4 separate regions of the Homo sapiens genome follow, and regions 1, 2 and 3 are each linked to region 4. The links are contacts of gene promoters, found by promoter capture Hi-C in blood cells and fetal thymus (Javierre and others, 2016). All regions are on one chromosome and are shown on one strand. Each heading gives the region's core, a stretch centred on a gene start or on the middle of the fragment in contact. The rest is flanking DNA. Distances are from core to core; before and after follow the strand shown. Region 1 holds the start of COX8A (cytochrome c oxidase subunit 8A). Region 2 holds the start of MACROD1 (mono-ADP ribosylhydrolase 1). Region 3 holds the start of NAA40 (N-alpha-acetyltransferase 40, NatD catalytic subunit). Region 4 holds the start of TMEM179B (transmembrane protein 179B).

The links. The method cuts DNA at HindIII sites, captures the fragments that hold promoters and counts their contacts. A CHiCAGO score of 5 or more calls a contact.
Region 1: the fragment with the promoter of COX8A here is called in contact with the fragment with the promoter of TMEM179B in region 4 in 5 of 17 cell types (non-activated CD4 T cells, fetal thymus, megakaryocytes and 2 more); the score reaches 8.1 in non-activated CD4 T cells.
Region 2: the fragment with the promoter of MACROD1 here is called in contact with the fragment with the promoter of TMEM179B in region 4 in 6 of 17 cell types (M2 macrophages, non-activated CD4 T cells, total CD4 T cells and 3 more); the score reaches 15.8 in M2 macrophages.
Region 3: the fragment with the promoter of NAA40 here is called in contact with the fragment with the promoter of TMEM179B in region 4 in 13 of 17 cell types (erythroblasts, naive CD8 T cells, fetal thymus and 10 more); the score reaches 17.6 in erythroblasts.

What each region holds. Positions count from the first base shown.
Region 1 is chr11:63,973,211-63,976,643 of GRCh38, forward strand. COX8A (cytochrome c oxidase subunit 8A) reads left to right here and starts at 1,410. Exons shown (of 2, transcript NM_004074.3): 1 at 1,410-1,584; 2 at 3,015-3,333. The coding sequence starts at 1,471. The coding sequence ends at 3,110. RefSeq lists an enhancer at 1,324-1,763. The HindIII fragment of the contact is 5,471 bases long and covers 1-1,570 here.
Region 2 is chr11:64,164,581-64,168,078 of GRCh38, forward strand. MACROD1 (mono-ADP ribosylhydrolase 1) reads right to left here and starts at 1,533. Exons shown (of 11, transcript NM_014067.4): 1 at 1,117-1,533. The coding sequence starts at 1,414. It overlaps LOC105369339 (a long non-coding RNA gene), which reads left to right and starts at 1,658. Exons shown (of 3, transcript XR_950187.3): 1 at 1,658-2,009. RefSeq lists an enhancer at 1,052-1,552 and silencers at 1,090-1,189, 1,320-1,399, 1,660-1,919. The HindIII fragment of the contact is 18,296 bases long and covers 1-3,498 here.
Region 3 is chr11:63,937,678-63,940,871 of GRCh38, forward strand. NAA40 (N-alpha-acetyltransferase 40, NatD catalytic subunit) reads left to right here and starts at 1,325. Exons shown (of 8, transcript NM_024771.4): 1 at 1,325-1,425. The coding sequence starts at 1,420. RefSeq lists enhancers at 328-828, 1,067-1,206 and silencers at 927-976, 1,237-1,316, 1,246-1,431. The HindIII fragment of the contact is 5,806 bases long and covers 365-3,194 here.
Region 4 is chr11:62,785,166-62,788,703 of GRCh38, forward strand. It overlaps TMEM179B (transmembrane protein 179B), which reads left to right and starts at 2,237. Exons shown (of 5, transcript NM_199337.3): 1 at 2,237-2,362. The coding sequence starts at 2,267. It overlaps TAF6L (TATA-box binding protein associated factor 6 like), which reads left to right. Exons shown (of 11, transcript NM_006473.4): 10 at 1,095-1,223; 11 at 1,352-2,177. The coding sequence ends at 2,131. It also overlaps a transcript of TMEM223 not described here. RefSeq lists an enhancer at 1,308-1,507 and a silencer at 1,758-1,867. The HindIII fragment of the contact is 7,473 bases long and covers 1-3,538 here.

The DNA.
Region 1 (3,433 bases), core at 160-2,659, 1.2 Mb after region 4:
TGACTTGGTCAGATTTAGGTTTAAAAAACCAAGAAGGAAGGGATGGGGGAGGGAGAGAGAGTGATAGGGTAGGAAGGAAGGGAAGTTGGCTGCTCCAGCATGGTAACTGGAATTGAAGAGTGTAATAGTAATTGAGGGAGGTTTGGTTACTAGGTCAGTGTCAGGAATTCTCAACAAAAACGACGGAGGCCTGGTGGAGAGGAGGGGACTCTCAATAGAGAGATTTTTTTTTTTTTTTTTTTTTGAGACGGAGTCTTGCTGTGTCGCCCAGGCTGGAGTGCAGTGGCGTGATCTCAGCTCACTGCAACCTCTGCCTACCGGGTTCAAGCAGTTCTCCTGCCTCAGCCTCCCTAGTAGCTGAGATTACAGGCATCTACCACCATGCCTGGCTATTTTTTGTATTCTTAGTCGAGATGGAGTCTCACCATGTTGGCCAGGCTGCTTTCGAACTTTTTTTATTGTTGTTTTTTATTTTTGAGATGGAGTTTCGCTCTTGTGGCCCAGTCTGGACTGCAATGGCTCAATCTCGGCTCACTGCAACTTCCGTCTCCTGGGTTCAGCAATTCTCCTGACTCAGCCTCCCGAGTAGCTGGAATTACAGGCGCCCACCACCATGCCCAGCTAATTTTTGTATTTTTAGTAGAGACGGGGTTTCACCATGTTGGCCAGTCTGGTCTCGAACTGTTGACCTCAGGTGATCCACCCGCCTCGGCCTCCCAAAATGTTGGGATTACAAGCGTGAGCCACTGCGCCCGGCCAATTTTTGTATTTTTCGTAGAGATGGGGTTTCACCATGCTGGCAAGACTGGTCTCAAACTCCTGACCTCAGATGATCTACCGGCCCCGGCCTCCCAAAGTGTTGGGATTACATGCGTGAGCCACTGCGCCCGGCCAATTTTTGTATTTTTCGTAGAGATGGGGTTTCACCATGCTGGCAAGACTGGTGTCAAACTCCTGACCTCAGATGATCTACCCGCCCCGGCCTCCCAAAGTGCTGGGATTAGAGGCGTGAGCCAACGCGCCCAGCCCGTACTTTTTTTTTTTTAGTACAGACGGCCTCCCAAAAGTTCTGAGATTACGGGCGTGAGCCACCACGCCCAGCCTGAATAGAGAGAGATTTAACAGTATGAATGAAGGGAGGAGTCAAGAACAGTTTAGGCTTCTCGCGTACATGATTGGGTGGCCCCAGATGTCATTCACAAGTATAAGCCTTGGAGGCGGAACATAACTCGAAGAAGAGCCCTTTTGTGCTCCGCCCATAGCGTAGGAAGGTGTCAATTGGCTGTTTCGAGGAACGCGCCAAAAACTGCCAAGGGCTGTGGGAGGTGTGTTCTTGCGTCATTTCCGAGAGACTTCCGCGCCGCAGTTTCCCTGCTTCCCCAGCTCCAGAACTTCCGGCCAGCGCAGCCATTTTGGCTTCCTGACCTTGGGCTACGGCTGACCGTTTTTTGTGGTGTACTCCGTGCCATCATGTCCGTCCTGACGCCGCTGCTGCTGCGGGGCTTGACAGGCTCGGCCCGGCGGCTCCCAGTGCCGCGCGCCAAGATCCATTCGTTGCCGCCGGAGGGGAAGCTTGGGATCATGGTGAGGAACGGGCCTGGAAGAGCGCGGGAGGCGCCGTGGGCTGACCCCTTCTGCCTAGCTGACCTCAGGTGGTCCTGAGAATGCCTCGCGCCCCGCAGCGTAGCGGGGAGCAGCAGTGCCGGTTTGGGCATGTCTGGAGGGCGCGAACGACGGGGACAGTGCCCGGGCGACAGTCGGGGCTGTCGGCGTTAGGTCTTTCCCCACAGCCCCAGGATCTCGGGTCTGGTCCTGTCAGGCCCTCCCTCTCCTGTCGCCTCCTCGCTGCGCCGCCTCCTGCCGACTTCTTTAGCCGCTCTGAGCCCATTTTCTCGTTGGTTCACTGGGGGATGCCTGACGCTGTCAGCGACGAAAATGGTTGTTACTGCTATTTATTTTATTTTATTTTATTTTACTTATTTATTTTGAGACGGGTTCTCGCTCTGTCGCCAGGCTGGAGTGCAGTGGCGCGATCTCGGCTCACTGCAGCCTCCGACTCCCGGGTTCAAGCGATTCTCCTGCCTCAGCCTCCCGAATAGCTGGGACTACAGGCGCGTGCCACCATGCCCAACTAAATTTTGTATTTTTAGTAGAGACGGGGTTTCACCATGTTGGCCAGGATGGTCTCGATCTCTTGACCTCGTGATCCGCCTGCCTCAACCTCCCAAAGTGCTGGGATTACAGGCGTGAGCCACTGCGCCCGGCCTGGGAGGGGGTTTTCAGGCAAGGAAGGATAGGTATCGTTTTGGAGTTACTGGCCCATGCAAGGATCCTGGGTCTTAACATACAGGCTTTGCTTTTTTTGTTTGTTGTTTGTTTTTTTGAGACGGAGTCTTGCTCTGTCACCCAGGCTGGAGTGCAGTGGTGCGATCTCGGCTTACTGCAACCTCCGCCTCCCAGGTTTAAGCCAAGCCATTCTCCTGCCTCAGTCTCCCGAGTAGCTGGGATCACAGGCGCCCGCCACCACTCCCGGCTAATTTTTTGTATTTTTAGTAGAGACGGGGTTTCACCATGTTGGTCAGGCTGGTCTCTAACTCCTGACCTTGTGATCCGCCCGCCTTGGCCTCCCAAATTGCTGGGATTACAGGTGTGAGCCACCATGCCCGGCCCAGACCAGCTTTAAAACAGGTTTCAATAAATCCTGCTTCCTGTCCCTTCCTTTACCATCTGGTGGTGCATTTCTCCCTGAACCCTAACCCCAGCTGTCTCTCCTTCCTCTCACTCTTCCCCCTCCTTATAACTGACCCTTTACCTCAAGGGTTAGCGTAGCTTTGGACCTGCTCTGTCTGCTCCGTGGAGCGTGGATTCCTTTAACGTGAGGATGCGGGGCCTCCCACTTGCCTCTGAGTCCTGGCTCCCTGAGCGGGGCTTTCTGCTGCCTGGGAACTGCAAGGACTTAGAGAGCCTAGGGGAATACTGACTCCGAGGTGCCTTCTTTCTTGTGCTCTGTGTAGGAATTGGCCGTTGGGCTTACCTCCTGCTTCGTGACCTTCCTCCTGCCAGCGGGCTGGATCCTGTCACACCTGGAGACCTACAGGAGGCCAGAGTGAAGGGGTCCGTTCTGTCCCTCACACTGTGACCTGACCAGCCCCACCGGCCCATCCTGGTCATGTTACTGCATTTGTGGCCGGCCTCCCCTGGATCATGTCATTCAATTCCAGTCACCTCTTCTGCAATCATGACCTCTTGATGTCTCCATGGTGACCTCCTTGGGGGTCACTGACCCTGCTTGGTGGGGTCCCCCTTGTAACAATAAAATCTATTTAAACTTTACTTCAGAAATTCATTGTGCCTTCCCTCCTGCCTGGGCTCATGCCTCCACTGGCACTGGGTGGAGGTGTGGAGAAGAGCGCCCGGCTGGCTGCCCTGTGGT
Region 2 (3,498 bases), core at 283-2,782, 1.4 Mb after region 4:
AGTCGGTGCTTTCTGCCGTCACTTTTAGATCCTGGCGCAGGCCACACAATTCATGTCAGGAGTAAATCATTTTGATTTCCACCTCTGGTCCCGAGAAAGCCATCTTCTCTTCACCCCTAACACCGCAGGACCCCCCCATCCTGCCTGCCCAGCCCAGAGGCCACACCTACTCCACCACGGAGGCCCAGCCAATTAGCCACTTCCCTGCACTTTTGAAAGGGGATCCAGCCGGGAAGAGTCACAGGATCCCAGGAGGCAGGCCCTGAAAGGCAGGGGCAGCTGGGTGCCCGGCAGGGCTATTTGGGGCTCAGTAGCGGCAGCTTGGGTTCTCTCTCTCCCCAGGCCCCAGACTCATGCCCCCTCCAGGAGCAAGAGGAAGTGGTGTGATTCTTGAAGGGTGTCATCAGTTGTCACAGGGACAAGACCCCACCTCTGCCCTGCTCCTCTAACCTCTGTTCCTGGCATGAGCAAACTGCTCACAAGTGGCCAGAGGCCAGCGAGAAGGGGAAAAGGGCGCCAGACCACGTGCCCAGGAAGGCATCAGAGTGCGGGCTTGGGGTGGGGTGGAGGCAGGACAGGCCAGCCCAGGAAGGTCACTCTGTGAGGTTACGTGCCCCACCAGGTGGGACGCCAGCCCCGGAGCTGTTCCCTCAGCCCCATTCCCGAACACTTAAGAACCACACTGTGCAAAGTTTGGAGAGTCCGGGATCATAACCTCCACTTTGCCACCAGCTCCGAGTGACCTTGGGGAAGCCAGCTGTGGCACTCGGCCTCAGTTTCCCTCCTGCACAGGGAAGGAAGTTGGTAGGTCCTGCACAATCTCTGGGGTGCCCTGTGACCCATTCCAATGGGGTAAGGAAGGCCGCCTTCCTCACGCTGCCCCCTGCGTGGACACTTGGACCTGGTCTGGAGTGAATTGTTCTGTGGGGCTGGGAACACGCGCGGGGGCGGGGGGGGCTGTCAATGGGGAGGAGGGGTCCGTTCCAGGGCAGATGGGGCCTCAACTTCCCCAGGTCTCTCGGGTGGAAGGGGCTGCTCGCTCGTTGGGGGCCGCCCAGCCGGGAAGCTCCACGTGAGGCCGCCCTCTCCCTCGCGCCCCCTCGTGCTTACACTTACATTTCGCCTCCTTCCAGTCGGTGGAGGTGCTCAGGTCCACCTTCGCCGCCATGGCCAGGGGGGCCCAAGTGCGCACCCCGGCTGTCCGCCCCACCGCCGCCGCCCCCCACGCCCCAACTCCCGCCGAGGTCCGCGCACGGCGGCCGAACACGCCCAGGAACGCCGGGGGACCGCACGTGCTGCTGCGGGTCCTCGTGGCACCCGCCAAGTGTCCGGGCCGGGGGCGCGGGGGGACGAGCAGCTGCCCCGCCGCGCGCAGCTGTGCCAGGCGGCCGGACAGTCGGCTCTGTAGAGACATGAGCGGGCGGCGCGGGACGGCTCTCCGCCCACTTGGACTCTATTTACGGCGCTCGGGAGTGTCTCTCCCTTATTTACTCTGGGACCGGGTGGCGACTGCCAGCCAGCGGCGACCTGCTCGGAGCCAGCGGGAGGCGCGGCCAGAAAACCCGGGAGCGCCGCTGGGCACCCTGGAACTTGTAGTCCGGGCCGCCGGATGGGCCCACGCACTCGTATACACACGTGCGCGCCCGCCCGGGCTCCCAGTGTCGCGGATGGAGCCCCGCCTGAGCCCTTCGACTTCTCCCGTGGCCGCCAGGCGCCTCCCCTCCGCGAGACCTCGGCCGCCTCTAACTTTCTGGTTGGCTGAGCGTCGGCTTCCCCGGCACGGGCTGAAGCCCCCGGGCCTTCCACGCAGCCCCGGGCCCCTCTGCCGCTCGGCCCCGCGGCGGAGCAGGCGCGCCGGCCGCTGCGTATCGAGCTGGGAGAGCCTGGCGCGGCTTCCGCAGTGCCGAGCGTTTTGCAGCCTGGGAGACCCGGGCTTCTCTCCCCGCGGGTCAGCAGGGCACCGCCTCCACACCCCAGCCTGCCCTCCTAGGGACAGGTGCGACGAACGGGTAAATCCGGTTTGGGGACTTCTCCCCAGAGCCTCTGCCTTCTAACAGCCCCGGGGCCAAGGCTCAGCTGGAGCAGAATCTAGGACAGCTGGGGAGGAGAGTCGAGGGTGGAAATAGTGGAATTTGGAGGCAGGAAACTTAGGCTTCAAGTGGCGTTCAAGGGTGGAAGGATTGGGGTGATGTTTTTGTGTGTGTCTGTGTGTTTTTTTTTTTTTTTCTTTTCTTTTTTAAACAAAAACCGGCCGGGCGCGGTGGCTCACGCCTGTAATCCCAGCACTTTGGTAGGCCGAGTTGGGTGGATCACGAGGTCAGGAGTTCGAGGCCTGCCTGGCCAACATGGCGAAACCCCGTCTCTACTAAAAATACAAAAATTATGCAGGCGTGGTGGTGCATGCCTGTTAATTACAGCTACTCGGGAGGCTGAGGCAGGAGAATCACTTGAACCCGGAAGGCGGAGGTTGCGGTGAGCCGAGATCGTGCCATTGCACTCCAGCCTGGGTGACAGAACGAGACTCTGTCTCAAAGAAAACAAAACAAAAAACACGAGGATGGATTTTTAAGTACTTTTATATATTTTTATGTACTATTAATATTACTTTATGATAAATATAATGAATACAGGCCGGGCCATTATAATAATATAATGAATGTAATAATGAATAATGAATAAGTGCTCACACCTGTAATCCCAGCACTTTGGGAGGCTGAGGCAAGAGGATTATTAGAGGCCAGGAGTTCAAGACCAGCCTGGGCAATATAGTGAGACCCCCTCATCTCTACCCGCCCCCACACAAAAAAATTACCCTGGTATGGTGGTAGACACTCACCTCTAGTCCCAGCTACTCCAGAGGCTGAGGCAGGCAAACACTTGAGCCCAAGGGTTCAAGGCTACAGAGAGCCATGATGGCACCACTGCACTACAGCCTGGACGACACAGTGAGACCCTATCTCAAAAGTAATAATAATAATGAATATATTTTAATACGAGGGAGGAACGAGCCAGGGTTTCAGAGAAGGTTCTAGTACTAGTGTTGCTGCCCTAGGGTACCCTAGCCCCTTAAGACTCAAACTTCTTGAGCTGTCAGCTAGGAATAAGAGAGTCTGGCTGGTTGCAAACCTGCTCCTGTGCTCCAGGCCTCTGACTCTGAGTGTGGCAATAACCATGGATGGCCGTACGAGGATCCCTGACCTGCCATGGATGCAGATGGAACCACTGGGATGGTGACACGGGCTCACCCTTGGACTCCAGACATTAAATCTGCCCAAGAGAGGATCAGCATAGACTTGCCAGCAGCAGGGTAGGCAGTCATCAGTACTGGGAGTGAGGGCAAAGGGGAGCCAGAGGCCAGGAAGGAAGAGCCCACGGCCCCCAGCATTCCAGGACCACCAGCAAGGCCTGCACCCTCTCCTGAAAACATCAGCAAGGCACGGTTCAGGATGTAGGGGTCAGGCTCCAGGTCACCTCACCAGTTGTGGCCCCTCCAGTAAC
Region 3 (3,194 bases), core at 75-2,574, 1.2 Mb after region 4:
CTGTACTGAGCACTAAAGTTGGAATAATGAGGCTAAGCACAGTGGCTGACGCCTGTAATCCTAGCACTTTGGGAGGCCAAAGTGGGAGGATCGCTTGGGCCCAGGAGTTTGGGACCAGTCTGTGTAACACAGTGAGACCCCATCTCAACAAAAAATAAATAAAAATTGAGCTGCGTATGGTAGTGCACACCTGTAGTCCCAGCTACTCAGGAGGCTGAGGCGGGAGGATCGCTTGAGCCCAGGAGGTCGAGGCTGCAGTGAGCTGTGATTGCACCACTGCACTCCAGCCTGGGCGACCGCGAGACCCTGTCTCTTAAAAAAACAAAAAGATGGAATAATGAGCAAAACCTGAAAAAGTCCATGAAGCTTAAGTGTTGGGCAGCATTTCACTAATTTTCGTCTTGAAGCATTTCACTAATTTTCGCTCCCTACCTGGGGAGCACTAGGAAGTGAAGACTCTGGCTCCACCCCTGGAGATTCTGGGGGAGGTTGGCAGAGGTGTGCACACTGCGGAAGCGCCCCCGGCGGTTTGGATTCGGGTCACGTGCGGGTCACTCCGGTGTGCTGGGGATGGGTTGAAATTAAAACTTTCCGGGATGCCTGGTGTTCACGCTAACAGCACTGTCCACTCTCTCCTAAACAGTGCTTACGTGCCCGTCTCCCCTCTAAACCCTGAGGTGTGGCGCTGAGATGGCACCTCGCTCCTCTCTGTGCCCCCTGGGCTCAGCACCGCGTAGATGCGAGTTAATTTTTATTGAGAACGTGAATGAATGAGGGGGAATGAATGGTTAGAAGACGAATGAATGAGTAACAGGACTCTGGTTAGAAAAGGAATTTCAAGAGTCAAGATCTGGAAGGTGGGAAAGTTTCCAAAGACTTCCGCTACGCGCGCTAGGGCTCTGGAGGGGCAGGTACTTTAGAGGTCGAGACGCGATTGGCCGCCTGGGAAGGTGGCTGTGCCGCCGGCTGCTACGCGCGGGGCCAAGGAGTCGCTGGCCGCAGGGGAGGTGCTGCCAACCACCCGGCCCCCAGCGGCGCGCGACTCACGGCCTGGGTGAGCAGCCAGGCCTGGCGCCGCCGTTGCCATAGTTACAGACGCAGCCCTGCGAGGGGGCGGGCTCTGGCCGCACGTCATTCCCGGCGCGACGCTCCTCCGCGCTCCCGCCTCCTCCTGGTCGGAGACCCTCGGCCAGCCTAGCGGGCGCTCCACCTGCGCGCCGGCTCACCGCTGCCCTGCGCCGGTTCTGCGCCGGCGCGGTACGAGGGCGCGCGGTTGGGCGGGGGGGGGGGGGGAAGCTGCGAGGCGCATGCGCGTTGCAGGGCCGTCCGCTCTGCTGCCGCCGCTGTTGCAGCCACCGCCGTTGCCGCCTCCCTGCCGGCAAGTGTGTGAAGAAGAAGCTGAGCGTTGTCGCCGCCGCTATGGGGGTGAGTGAGGCAGAGAGAGGAGATGGGAGGTCCAGGGGCGCTCCTCGCTACCCTCGCCCCCTTTGTTCTTAAACCCCCCTCTCACGTGACCCCGACCCCCTCCAGCCTCACGTGACCCCTGACCCCCACATGACCCGACTCCCCCATTCTAAGGGTCCCTACGCTAGGCCTAGCCCGGGAATCCTCTGGAGAGCCCCTGGTCCGGGGCCCCACCCCCTCGGCGCCCCCAGCGTCACGCCCGCCCCTTCCTGCTTCGCGGACCCGTTACTGGCCTCCCCACCACCGTCCCCCGCGGGGACCCTGGGGTTAGCTTCCCGCTCCCCCAGGGTCACTCATCACCTGGCTGTCACCAGCTTCGTCGCTTTTCACATCCGAGGTCAACCCTGGCTTGGAGGGAATTGAGGCCCAGAGGAAAGAAGGCGCCTAGCCAAGGTCATATTGTCGGGGGCGTCAGACCCCACCTTGGGCCTCCCGAATCCCAGTCCACTGCCCTTCCCGTTACTCGAGTCTCAGCGAAGCCGGTTCCCCTACACTCTTTCGAAACCTCTCCACCAGGTTCCTGCTGCTCCTGATAAACACAGCCTTCCTTTCCCATAGACTCCTGCCTTCGACGCCTCCTGGTTGCAATGAAATGGTTCTTACGACCGCTTGGGTTGTTAGGGGTTTTGGTAGTGCAGGTGTTTTTTGCAAGGGGAGGGCTGTGCAGGTGTGCGGGGAAGATGCGGGGAGGCGGGGGCGGCGGCCCAGCCGCGGATGGATATTGACCACTTGTTCCGTGCCGGCAGCCTGGAGGTGCATTTTAGTTTACTTTCCCGGGATATAGGGTAGGGCAGAAGTTATTTGCAAGTTTCTGTGCGTTCACCTTACTAAGTCTCAATTACAGCAGTATCAGTCACCCTCCTAAAAAGATAACGCTTTTCCTAGTATTGGCTGTATTCTTTTTTTTTTTTTTTTTTTTTTTTTTTGATATGGAGTTTTGCTCTTGTCGCCGAAGCTGGAGTGCAATGGCGCGATCTCGGCTCACTGCATCCTCCTTCTTCTGGGTTCAAGCGGTTCTCCTGCCTCAGCCTCCCCAGCAGCTGGGATTACAGGCGCCCGCTACTATGCCCGGCTCATTTTTGTATTTTTAGTAGAGACAGGGTTTCACCACGTTGGCCAGGCTGGTCTCGAACTCCTGACCTCGTGATTCACCCGCCTAGGCCTCCCAAAGTGCTGGGATTACAGGCGTGAGCCACCACACAGGCCTATATTAGTATTTACATGGAATTTCCATCACCTTAAGGGAACCCTGACTTTGGAGCCCGAGGTACCTCACTTCCAGCCCCGTCTTCGCTGCTGGTGGTATAATAGTGTGCCAGTGAGTTGGCCTTTATGTGTTTGAATTTCCTCACCTCTGTAATTGGGATGCTAATACCTCCCCCTTAGGGTAGTAGTGAAGATTAAGTGAGATAATGGATGTAGATTGCTAAGGAGGTGTCTCCTAAGTAGTGGCTGTTATTTTTGTCTGTATCCTCAGCCTTAACTTTACTGATCTAAAATGGATTTGTGCTATTTTTAACCCATTGGGTTTGTCCCTACTGTTGTTAACCTAGTTTTTTTTTTTCCCGTCACTCCACTATTTATCGACTGAACAAATCAACTTATTAGACAAAAATAGTTGTCTAATCCGTGTCAAAACAGTCATCGTGTTTTAACAAATAGTTTTGGGTATTACGTACTTCATATGTAGAAAACCAAGTCTAGAGACCTTAGGCATATTTAACCTAAAT
Region 4 (3,538 bases), core at 987-3,486:
TTGTAAATTCTGGCATGGTATTTTCTTTCCTTTTTTTTTTTTTCGAGACAGAGTCTCACACTGTCACCCAGGCTGGAGTGCAATGGCGCGACCTCGGCTCACTGCAACCTCTGCCTCCTGGGTTCAAGCGATTCTCCTGCTTCAGCCTCCCGAGTAGCTGGGATTACAGGCGCTCACCACCATACCTGGCTAATTTTTTGTATTTTTAGTAGAGACGGGGTTTCACTGTGCTGGCCAGGGCTCGTCTCGAACTCCTGACCTCCTGATCCGCCTGCCTTGGCCTCCCAAAGTGCTGGGATTACAGGCGTGAGCCACAGCGCCCGGCTGGTATTTTCCTTATAGGCCCAGCTGGTATTTTCCTTATAGTTAATTCTTTTTTTTTTTTTTGAGACGGAGTCTCACTTTGCTTCCCAGGGTGGAGTGCGGTGGTGTGATCTCGGCTCACTGCAACCTCTGCCCCCCGAGTTCAAGTGATTCTCCTGCCTCAGCCTCCCAAGTAGTTGAGATTACAGGCAACTGCTACTGCGCCCAGCTAATTTTTGTATTTTTAGTAGAGATGGGGTTTCACCATCTTGGCCAAGCTGGTCTTGAACTCCTGACCTCAGGTGATCCACTGGCCTCGGCCTCCCAAAGTGCTGGGATTACAGGCGTGAGCCACAGCGCCTGTCCAATCACAGGATTTTAAATTGTATAATCAGAGTCCAAGTCTCTGGTTGGTTGTTTTTATGCAGATTGTTTGAACTGAGTCTCAGTTTACATCTAAGTGAAGCCAGTACTTGCCTGATTGTATAGGGTAGCAGTATGCAAACTAAATTTTGGAGTTGTCAGTAATGAGCATTATTTAGCACACAGGGCAGTGATATTGGGTATATTTTTTATTGTCTCCCTTTGTACCTTATCTTTATTCCCAATGCCTAGCTTAGGTATACAGTAGGTTCCAAATAAATATATGGTTGAATATGCCAATCAGGGAATTTAGGAGGATTGAGCCCTGTCTAGGATCAGAGATAAAGGTAGGTCTTTCATGGGAAAGGGTCCTTGAGAGGGAATAAGTATCAAAGACATGCTAACTGTATTCCTTCTCTTCCTTCCAGGCAGTAGAACGAGTCCTGTACCCACACCTGTCCACCTACTGGACAAACTTGCAGGCTGTGCTGGATGATTATTCAGTATCTAATGCCCAGGTCAAAGCAGATGGACACAAAGTCTATGGAGCCATTCTGGTGAGTACCGTCCCCTTCCAGCCTCCCTTCCCTGCATGAGCTTAGCAGCCAAGCAGGCTTACTTTGGAATATTTGATGGGCCCAGGTTCCTCGAATTTTTTGCCTATCTTAGTCCTTGGCTCTTACAGGTGGCGGTAGAGCGACTGCTGAAGATGAAGGCCCAGGCAGCAGAGCCCAACAGGGGTGGCCCAGGTGGCAGGGGGTGCCGGCGCCTGGACGACCTGCCATGGGACAGCCTTCTCTTTCAAGAGTCGTCCTCCGGGGGCGGTGCAGAACCCAGCTTTGGGTCCGGCCTCCCGCTGCCGCCAGGGGGCGCGGGGCCGGAGGACCCTTCTCTTTCGGTGACCCTGGCCGACATCTACCGGGAGCTCTACGCCTTCTTCGGTGACAGCTTGGCCACACGCTTTGGCACCGGCCAGCCTGCACCCACGGCTCCGCGGCCGCCCGGGGACAAGAAGGAGCCGGCGGCAGCCCCGGACTCGGTGCGGAAGATGCCGCAGCTGACGGCAAGCGCCATAGTCAGCCCGCACGGCGACGAGAGCCCCCGGGGCAGCGGCGGAGGCGGCCCCGCGTCGGCCTCTGGGCCCGCCGCCTCTGAGAGCAGGCCCTTGCCGCGCGTGCATCGGGCGCGCGGGGCACCCCGGCAGCAGGGCCCCGGGACCGGCACCCGCGACGTTTTCCAGAAGAGCCGTTTCGCCCCGCGCGGCGCCCCGCACTTTCGTTTCATCATAGCCGGGCGGCAGGCTGGGAGGCGCTGCCGCGGGCGCCTTTTCCAGACTGCCTTCCCCGCGCCGTACGGGCCTAGCCCGGCCTCGCGCTACGTGCAGAAACTGCCCATGATCGGCCGTACCAGCCGCCCCGCCCGCCGGTGGGCGCTCTCGGACTACTCGCTGTACTTGCCGCTCTGAGTCAGTGGCCCCTTCGTTCCTTGTAAATAAATCCCGCCCCCGGAAATGACGTCTCCACCTTCGTGGGTCGCGCCGGATAAGGTGGGCTTTGGGCGGGGTGCTGCTGCAGCGGCGCTTCCTGGTGGTCAGGGCGCCATGGCGCTGTCCTGGCTGCAGCGCGTCGAGCTTGCGCTCTTTGCTGCCGCCTTCCTGTGCGGGGCCGTGGCGGCCGCGGCGATGACTCGGACCCAGGTGCGGCTGCGGGGCGGGGTCAGGTAGGCGGGGGAGCTGGCCGGTCTGGACATGGCGAGGCCACTTTCGCTTTCCGACCGGGCTTGCTGCTGCTCGGAGCCGGTGGACCTGGTGAGGCACGGCTGGCGCCGGCCTGTACCTGAAATGCAGCGAGGCTAATCGCGCTTTGTGGCTCCTCCTGGCCAGGTCATACTTCGAAGTTGTCCCCTCGCCAAAGGGACGGGTCAGTAGCGTCTTAAAGCACTAGGTGGAGTCGGGTTTCGTGGCTCCTGCTGCACAGCCTTACTGTGGTTCCGAAACAGAAGTCAGTGCAGAACCTGCGTCCATCCGTTAAATCAGAAGCCATTTGTGCTGAGCTTTGTCGAGAAATAAAGCATAGTGTAGTGGAGATGATCAAGCTGCCACATGATTGTAGCACAGTGTGTTAAATGACAAAATGAGAGATGGAGAAAACGCTGACGTAAAGGTAGAAGCCAATAATTTACATCGTTTACCCCAGCCAGGTAATCTGGTTAATAAACATGGGTTCATTTAATGCCTATAAAGTAGGCACTAGTGTGCCTATTTTACACCATGAGAAAACCTCAGAGATCCGCCGGGCGCGGTGACTCACGCCTGTAATCCCAGCACTTTGGGAGGCTGAGGCAGGCGGATCACTTGAGGTCAGGAGTTCGAGACCAGCCTGGCCAACATGGCAAAACTCTGTCTCTACTAAAAATACAAAAATTAGCCGGGTGTGGTGGCTCATGCCTGTAATCCCAGCTACTTCGGAGGCTGAGGCAGGAGAATCGCTTGAACCTGGGAGGCGGAGGTTGCAGTGAGTCGAGATCGTGCCATTGCACTCCAGCCTGGGTGACGAGCGAATCTCCATCGCAAAAACAAAAACAAAAACACTGGCCGGGCCTGGTGGCTCACGCCTGTAATCCCAGCACTTTGGGAGGCCGTGGCAGGCGGATCACGAGGTCAGGAGATCAAGACCATCCTGGCCAACACGGTGAAACCCTGTCTCTACTAAAAATACAAACAATTAGCCAGGCATGGTGGCGGGTGCCTGTAGTCCCAGCTACTCAGGAGGCTGAGGCAGGAGAATGGCATGAACCCAGAAGGCAGAGCGTGCAGTGAGCCGAGATGGCGCCACTGCACTCCAGCAAAAAAAAAAAAAAAAAGCACCTCACA